Regions from separate parts of the Homo sapiens genome. Here region 1 is linked to region 2. The links are contacts of gene promoters, found by promoter capture Hi-C in human tissues and cell types (Jung and others, 2019). All regions are on one chromosome and are shown on one strand. The core of a region is centred on a gene start or on the middle of the fragment in contact, and the rest is flanking DNA. Distances in the headings are between cores, read along the strand shown. Region 1 overlaps DDX27 (DEAD-box helicase 27). Region 2 holds the start of ZNFX1 (zinc finger NFX1-type containing 1).

Evidence for each region. The method cuts DNA at HindIII sites, captures the fragments that hold promoters and counts their contacts. A contact is called where the count stands out against the background at its distance.
Region 1: a contact is called between a fragment that was not itself captured here and the fragment with the promoter of ZNFX1 in region 2, in 6 of the 25 tissues and cell types used here (H1 embryonic stem cells, aorta, mesenchymal stem cells and 3 more).

What each region holds. Positions count from the first base shown.
Region 1 is chr20:49,241,987-49,246,212 of GRCh38, forward strand. DDX27 (DEAD-box helicase 27) reads left to right here. Exons shown (of 21, transcript NM_017895.8): 17 at 1; 18 at 97-220; 19 at 608-695; 20 at 1,643-1,717; 21 at 1,830-2,087. The coding sequence ends at 1,848. It overlaps ZNFX1 (zinc finger NFX1-type containing 1), which reads right to left. Exons shown (of 14, transcript NM_021035.3): 14 at 3,914-4,226. Among named protein-coding and RNA genes, the nearest start is that of DDX27, 25 kb to the left of the region's middle. The HindIII fragment of the contact is 5,369 bases long and covers 1-4,226 here.
Region 2 is chr20:49,276,591-49,280,659 of GRCh38, forward strand. ZNFX1 (zinc finger NFX1-type containing 1) reads right to left here and starts at 1,467. Exons shown (of 14, transcript NM_021035.3): 1 at 1,431-1,467. It overlaps ZFAS1 (ZNFX1 antisense RNA 1), which reads left to right and starts at 1,588. Exons shown (of 4, transcript NR_036658.2): 1 at 1,588-2,126; 2 at 2,514-2,618; 3 at 3,895-3,980. SNORD12C (small nucleolar RNA, C/D box 12C) reads left to right here and starts at 2,355; the gene lies at 2,355-2,433. It overlaps SNORD12B (small nucleolar RNA, C/D box 12B), which reads left to right and starts at 3,723; the gene lies at 3,723-3,825. RefSeq lists enhancers at 642-701, 1,043-1,543, 1,544-2,044, 1,802-2,096, 1,972-2,171 and silencers at 1,242-1,471, 1,522-1,881. The HindIII fragment of the contact is 7,798 bases long and covers 1-3,035 here.

The DNA.
Region 1 (4,226 bases), core at 563-3,062, 34 kb before region 2:
AGTGAGTGGCCTCCCTTTTGGAGTTTGGGCCCACTCGGTGGGGTGGGTCAGAGTGGCCTGGTGTGTTCCACACTCACACCTCCCCACTCCCCCTAGGCAGAGGAAAGGTCTCAGTTTGAAATCCTCAAGGCGCAGATGTTTGCTGAACGGCTAGCGAAGAGGAATCGCAGAGCCAAGCGGGCCCGAGCAATGCCCGAGGAGGAGCCAGTGAGAGGTCCTGGTAGGTGAATGGGGAGCCCAAAGGAGCTTGTACAAGGTTTTCCCTGAAACCTGTGCTTTGGGTCAGGGAGAAAATCTGAGGGATGATGACAGTAGCCCACATTATTTGAGTAATTAGTATGTACCAATGTGTACAGCTATCCCTCCACGGTCTAAGGGGCGCAGTGACCTTGTGGTTGTTGAGAACTAGGATTTGAACGCCAGCTTTTCTGACTCCGGAGCCTAAGGCCTCACCAGCTGCTACTTGGAGGAGCTGGTGAGGACAGAATGAAAATAGTCTTTGGATGCCAGAGTATCCACTGAACTTGGAATCATTACCTTGAACTTAAGGGGATTTAGGAGCTTGGGCCAAAGACAACCATATGTAACCCATTCTCTCTGTGCACAGCCAAGAAGCAAAAGCAGGGGAAGAAATCTGTATTTGATGAAGAACTCACCAACACAAGCAAGAAGGCCCTGAAACAGTATCGAGCTGGGTAGGATTTTAAGTCATCATGGAGCCCTTGGTATTCTTTTTTTTTTTTTTTTTTTTTTTGAGACGGAGTCTCGCTCTGTCGCCCAGGGTGGAGTGCAGTGGTGCATCTTAGCTCACTGCAAGCTCCACCTCCTGGGTTCAAGCAATTCTCCTGCCTCAGTCTCCCAAGAAGCTGGGACTATAGGCGCACGCCACCATGCCCAACTAATTTTTGTATTTTTAGTAGAGATGGGGTTTCACCATGTTTGCCAGGATGGTCTCGATCTCTTGACCTCCTGATCCACCCGCCTCAGCCTCCCAAAGTGCTGGGATTACAGGCTTGAGCCACCGTGCCCGGCGAGCCCTTGGTATTCTAATGGAAGCTATGAGTCTTCTGCCTCCTTCCCCATTTCCAGTTTTTGCACACCTATAGCTTTATACTATGTAAATTCAAGGGTACCTGTCTGTTCTCCACCCCCCACCCCTCTCAGAGCCACCTGAGGATCCCAAGGTGAGAACAGGAGAGGGGTGTTCAGTTAGCACTGTTCCTGCCTTGGAGGTGAAATAGTACATTGTTGGGTTCAGAAATGGAGCTTTCCTTCAGGGGAGTGATAACTCTTTCATCTCAAGTTCCATCCTGCAGAACCCCAGAGAATCCTGGCTTGCTCTTAGGAATATGTTGTCCCACACCATTTTCCCCAGCCCAAGGTTGGGGCAGGGGCAGACTAAGCTTCCCAAGTAGTGGTATATACCTAAGAAGGGCCTCTTCCAACCTTGTTTTAAAATTGGGCCCTGACTTCCAGAAACACGTTATCAGGTGGAAACACATAAAGGCTTAGAACTTAGGGCCTGAAAATGATGCATCCCAGAGATGCTACTGCTTCATGTAGGAGCTGGGGAGGGTGGGGGTGAGACAACACCCATTTGTTCAACAGTTTGCTCATTTCAGCATGTCATCTTCTCTCACAGCCCTTCCTTTGAAGAAAGGAAACAGTTGGGCTTGCCCCACCAGAGACGAGGAGGAAACTTTAAATCTAAATCCAGGTGATACTGGCTGTTTTGGAGGGGCATAGGTTTTGGGATTAGAGATAAAAACCTTTCATGGAAAAGAAGCTTCTCCATCCTCATTCTGGTCTTAACTCTGATTTTCTTACAGATACAAGAGGAGGAAGTAGCTGTCGTGGCCTGAAGAAATTCATGGGGGCAGCCCTTAAATCCCTTCCCTGTGGGAAGTCATCCTGGCTGGTCTGTCTTTTCTCCATTTGTTTAAAAAAAAAACAAAAACAAAAAACAACACTTTGGTGTGGTGGTATGGTACGTAGCTATTTTCCTAAGCATGTCTGTCAATCTCCCTTCTTGCTGATTAGCTTTCATATGACTATATTAAATGGAAGTATTTTTGGGAAAAGAGAAACCAATCCAAGTGTATATCTTATTACTATCTCTTCCTCAATGGCAAATGTGCCCACAGTCTACTAGCTTGGTATCACCACATACAGTTGGTATGCATAATCTTTATGCTTGTAGAGGAACAGGGTATGGAGTGAGGAAATTCTTGGTAGAAGTTCTCTTCTAGCCTGGGGAACATAACAAGACCCTGTCTCTTAAAAAAAAACAACAACAACAGAAAAGTTCTCTTCTGTTGATACTCTAGAACTAAGAGCTAAATGATAGCTGAAGAAGATAGCTAAATGATAACTCTTAGTTCTAAAACATCAACAGGGGAGAACTTTAGCATGAATGCCAACCATGCACCAGATATTCTGTGTGCTGAATAGAATCCAGTCAACTCACTGCACTCCTGTGAGGCAGGCAGTGATATCCTCATTTTCCAATAAACAGAGGCTTGGAAAGACTAACTTTCCAGAGTTGCACAGCTGGGAATTCAGGTTTTCAACCAACATCTACTTGAACCCTCACCTTACCTCTTGCTGCTGTGCTGTGGAAATGCTGCTGGAGAAATGGAAGCCCGAAAAGGACAGAAGGAGCCTTGACACCATAAATTAGTTACTTGCTGCAAAAACCAGAGTCTCTTGTCCTCCAGGCTGGAGTGCAATGACACGATCTTGGCTCATTGCAACCTCCACCTCCCGGGTTCAAGCGAATCTCCTGCCTCAGCCTCCCAAATACCGGTGATTACAGGTGCCCGCTACCATGCCTGGCTAATTTTTGTATTTTTAGGAGAGACAGGGTTTCACCATGTTGGCCAGGCTGGTCTTGAACTCCTGACCTCAGGTGATCCACCACCTCAGCCTCCCAAAGTGCTGGGATTACAGGCTTGAACCACTGTACCTGGCCAAAAACCAGTTTTGATCCTGTAAGAACGTCGGTTCTCATCCTTTTCTGACTCAGAATGAGATGAAAGCTGTGGGGCCCCACCTGGAAAACTGTATAGTTTGTTATAATTTCAGGGAGTACTTACCACCCTACCCCCAGCTTAAAAATTATAAGTTATCCAGTAGCACATACCCTAGATACTAAAGAGTGTGTTCAAAGCTATTCATTCAGGCTGCACCTAAGTCACCAACAGAGGGTCCAATTCAGAAAATGATGGCACAACTGTGTGATGGAGTACAGTTCAGACTACTGTCTTACTGGATTTTACAGAAAGTAGGTTATTAGGCTAAAAAAGCCAAGTGCAGAACTGTGTACTTTTTCTTTTCCTTTTCCTTTTTTTGAAGCAGGGTCTCACTCTTGCCCAGGCTGGAGTGCAGTGGCTTCACTGCTCACTGCAACCTCGACCTCCCCAGGCTCAGGTGATCCTCCTACCTCAGCCTTTGGAGTAGCTAGGACTACAAGTGCAAGCAACAACACCTGGCTTATTTTTGTATTTTTTTTTTTGTGGAGATGGTTTCGCCCTGTTGCCCAGGCTGGTCTTGAACTCCTGGGCTCAGGCCATCTGCCCAATGTGGCCTCCCAAAGTGCTGGGATTACAGATGTGAGCCACCATGCCTGGCCTAAGGGATGTGTATTGCATGTGCATAAGTTCTCTCTGGGAGGACTCAGGAAGTTAACAGGGTTTGCCTCTGGAGAAAGAAACTTCAGGTATACCCTTTTGTACAGGCTGAAAAAATGTTCTTTTTACCGTGGGTAAAAATGATTCATTCACCAGCTAAATAAAAATCCTGTATCACAAAAACAAAATCACAGCCTCACTGTAGACAGTGCCTTCCCTGTGCCCGTCTTCACTGTCTTTGGCTGAGTTGCTTCTGAAAATTGAGGATACACGTGGACCACTGATTTTCTCAATCATTGTTTTTAATTGGCTTTATAAGCTAAAGTGCATAGTAAAGACAAAAAAAGGAAATGCATACATAGGAAAGGGACACTTAGAAAGGACCTGAGATACCTAAATGTCTGTTCTAAGGAACACTGGAAGGAGGGAATGCAGATGCAGGCAGCAGGCCTGGGTCTGGCTTCTGGCCTGGGTTTGGAGCCTGCAGAAGCTGCTGGCATGCTAGCTCTACCCAGGGAACAGCTCCAAGAGGGAGTGTTGGGATGAAGGATCACACTTGGGATAGGTGCTGCTGGTACCAAATGTGATTTTAGCTCC
Region 2 (4,069 bases), core at 217-2,716:
GGTCCTGTAAGAGGAAGAGGAAGCCCCTTTAAGGGAGCTTCTCAACCCAACTCATACACATGGTGTGGGCTGGGGCTAAGGAAAGAGTGGGTGACTCAGAGTCCTCAGCAAAGGGATTTTTGAGACTGTCTTCACTGAGTTCTAAAATATTCATAATTGGAAACTGTGACTACATTTGGCATTATATGAGGGGCAGCTTTTTTCCTCATCTGAAAAAGGAGTCTCTTTTCTTCCCCCTGGGAATATCTCTGGTGAGTCCCCTCCCTCATCTTATCAAACCCAGCCCTCCTGGCGCAGGCTCAGTATTTAGAGTTTGTTTGTTTATTTTCAATTCTCCGAGGGGAAAATTCCTTCTTCCCCTTGTTGAAAAATGCTAAAATAGAAACTCCAGAAAATTTAAAAGAAACGGAAGAAAAGAAAAAAAGATGTTAAAAAAAAGGCAAGGGAAGGAAGGGAGGAGTAGACATGAACAGGAAATGCTGGGATCGAAAACAGACTGAAGTGTTTTTTTTTGGTGGGGGGAATCAAGGCCTAAAGGGCACGAAGAAGAAAATCAGTGATGATCAAGCTGGCCTGGAGTCAGAATGAGAGGGGCTAGTCATCACCAGAGTGGGACGCAGGAGGCTGAGGTCGGAGGCAGAGCTGGGTTTGGGGGAAGTCTCCAGGGTCCTGGGGAATCCCTGACCCAGGGAGCCCACGGTCCCTAATGGAAATGTTATGGGGTCAGGGAGCGCCAAGGCTGTGAGGTGGCGGGGTTATGGGGGCCTTGGGGAGAGGGTGGTAGCGAGCACCAGGGGGTGCTTGCTGAGGACGGAGGCGGCGGGGTGGGGGCAGGGAGCAGGCTGAAGGGGGTGCCGAGGTGCTCTGTAGAAGAGGGGGATTGATAAGGTGACAGGAGGTGAGGCCGGAGGAATGAGGGGGGTGCGAGTGGCAGAAGGGAGGGCACAGACAGGGGTAGGGGCAGAGGAGATCGAAGTGCTGAGGGCAGAAGCGGTGACGGTGTCGGGGGTGCTGGGGAGAGCGACGGGCCAGCTGAGGGGATGGGGACACTAAAGAGAGTACAGGGGAGCCGAAGGGGCGACGGGGCGCTGAGATGGGCCAGGGGCTGAGTGGGTGACGGGGCGCTGAGTAGGCGATGGAGGTCTGGGGTCTGAGGGGGAGACGGGGCGCTGAGAGGCGCTCTGAGTGGGTGCTGATGCCGCTGGGGGCCAAAGAGGTGACAAGGCTCTGAGTGGGTGATGGGGGTCTGGGGATTGAGGGGGCGACGGGGCGCTGAGGGGCCAGGGGCTCTGAGCGGGTGACGGGTGCGTTGGGGGCTTGAGAGGGTGACAGGTCTTACGGGCAGAGGCAGTGGCGGGTCGGCGCGGGCGCCGGGGTTCGCGGCGAGGCAAGGAAGAATCAGGGGCAGGGGCAGTTGCGGGGCCACTCACCCGGCTCCGGCGCGTCCTTTCACTGCCGCCGGCGAGTGCTGGGGCTTCGGCCCAGGCAGGTCGGTGGCCCCGCCCGGCGCCGCGCACTTTCGGTTTCCGTTCCCCGCAGACCCTGGGCGGAGCCGGGCGGGCGGCCCAGAGGAGGAGAAGGAGGAGGCGGGGGCCCAGGGTGGAGAGCACGAGGGCCTGGCCCAGGCACGGCCGGCGCCTCCGCCCTCGAGGAGGGCGTCACCTCAGCTCCCCCCGGCGGCGGAGCCGGCGGGCTCAGGCGGGCGCGGCTGAGGGGAGCGGACCGCGGGGGGCGGGAGATGACTGCGCCCAAGGCCTTTGCGGGCCTCAGCCGGCCCCAGAGGAAGGGGAACCCGTCGAGCGGTTTGGTGCGTGTGAAGCGCGACATGGCGAGGAAGCGGACAAGCCCGGGTGGCCCGGCGTGTAGAGGGAAGGGGGCGGGGCTAGACGCGGCCTGGACAACTACTAGAGCGCCTCGGGCTGTGCTGCTCGAGACTACATTTCCCAGAGCGACGCGCGCGGAGCGGGCGGGAAAGAGAGCGTTTCGGGTCCAGTGCGCAGGTGCGAAAGCCATCTTTGGTTATATAAGGGAGGTTCAGGAAGCCATTCGTTCTTTCGCGTCTGCGGTGCCCGGAGTGTGGTACTTCTCCTAGTTGCAGTCAGGCTTCATACGCTATTGTCCTGCCCGTAAGTTCCCGTTTTGTGTGTGGTGAGTGGAAACTCCATGTTCTTCGTTGGAGACCTCTGGTCCTCCCTTCCCTTCTTTGTGCCGTCGTCTCTGCGGCCAGCCCTAATCTCCTTCTCGTGGCTTCTCCGTCTCTGACCCCAAATAGGCCTTAAGGGCGTGGGAGAAATGAGTTTCTGGAGCTGGAAAAGCCACTGCCTTCTGCACGGGCCTGAGAAGCCCTTGGCTGGTGTAAATGATGACTTCACTTTTTTCCCCATCAGATCGACAATGCTGACGTCTTATATTTTGCCAGTTAGTTCTGATACATCGGCCTCAAAAGGCCCGGCCTTGTTCGTTTCTGACCGTGGGAAGATGGCGGTTAACGCCCTTTATTTGTTGGTTCACAGGTTAGAGCAGCCAGCGGGTACAGAATGGATTTTGGAAGAGGGAGTCACCACTGGACCTCCAAGGAAGCCACGTGCAGACATCTACAACCTTCGATCTCCTGACGAGTAAGTCTTTGTCTCCTATGGGTCTACTGTAGAAAACACGTGCTTTGAGAAGCTTTAGTTTTCTAGGAAAACGTGGGATTTAACAAAGCACTTTCTATCGAGCATTTATTAGGTATTTAAAAAAGTGTTCTGACGGCCGGGCGCTGTGGCTGACGCCTGTAACCCCAGCACTTGGGGAGGCCAAGGCAGATGGGTCACCTGAGGTCAAGATTTGGAGACCAGCCTGGCCAACATGGTGAAACCCTGACTCTATTAAAAATACAGAAATTAGCTGGGCGTGGTGGTACGCGCCTGTAATCCCAGCAACTCACAAGGCTGAGGCAGGAGAATTGCCCGAACCCGGGCGGCGGAGGTTGTAGTGAGTTGAGATTGCGCCACTGCCCTACAGTCGGGGCAACAGAGCCAGACTCCGTCTCAAAAAAAAAAAAAAAAGAAAAACATGTTCTGAATGTTTTATTCTCACAGTTCAAATATTGGAACTAGGTTTCTGGTGAAGAAACAGGTTTAAGAGAAATGCCTGAAGTGAAAGAACCTTGTTAGTGAAGAGGCGTTTAACATTTTAATGCCACTTAAACATATTTTTGGATTCCATTCTTCCTGTGTGTTGGGGCGCTTAAATTTCCAAGTGGAGGGATGATTTATTGACATATTTTGGAAAGCCAAATGTGTTTTTCTGTTGAACTAGCCACTCAAACCAGTGCCCGACTACATAACTAATATTTTTGCTAGAGTCCAGGAGTGAGGCGTTTACAAAGTCTGGGCTTCATGGGAACACATGTGAAGCTTATTGTTCCAGATTGTTCTTTTGTCAGGTAACTTGTGGTAACTTGTGTTAAAATGCAATCTCTTGGTACTTGTTCACTTCCCAACTCAGTAAATGCCAACTACTTCCTCAACTCTTCCAGCCACACTGGCTTCTATCATGGGCCTGTACTCAGAGTGTAAGCACTGAAGACAGGGGTGTTTGGTTTGGCTACCAAGTTATTGCCAGCTACAGGATACAACACAGAAGTGCTCAAACACCGAATGCAAATTTGCAAATATGAAGCATACCAACCAAATCTTACTCCTCATGGCTTTCAAATCTTACTCCTCACTCAAGAACTTCCTGCTGGCATATATGATGACTTAGCTTTTTTCCCCGACAGATCGACTATGTTGATCTAACTTTTCTAAGCCAGTTTCTGTCTGATATGCCAGCTTGAGCAGCTCCTTTGTCCCAGCTCCCCTGGGCATCTAGCTGATGGGAGCTCATTTTTCTGTTTTTTCATTTCAGGTTTATTGTTGGCCAAAACCAGGCTTTGATTGAACCAGGATGAATGCGGGTGTTGGAAGTAGAATATATATATACATATAAAATTGGTAAGTGGTGCCAACACGTCTTCCCTGGCTGAGTAGACACAGGCTCTGGAGGGGGTAGTAGCTGCTTTTCAGTGTGGGTTTGTCACCCT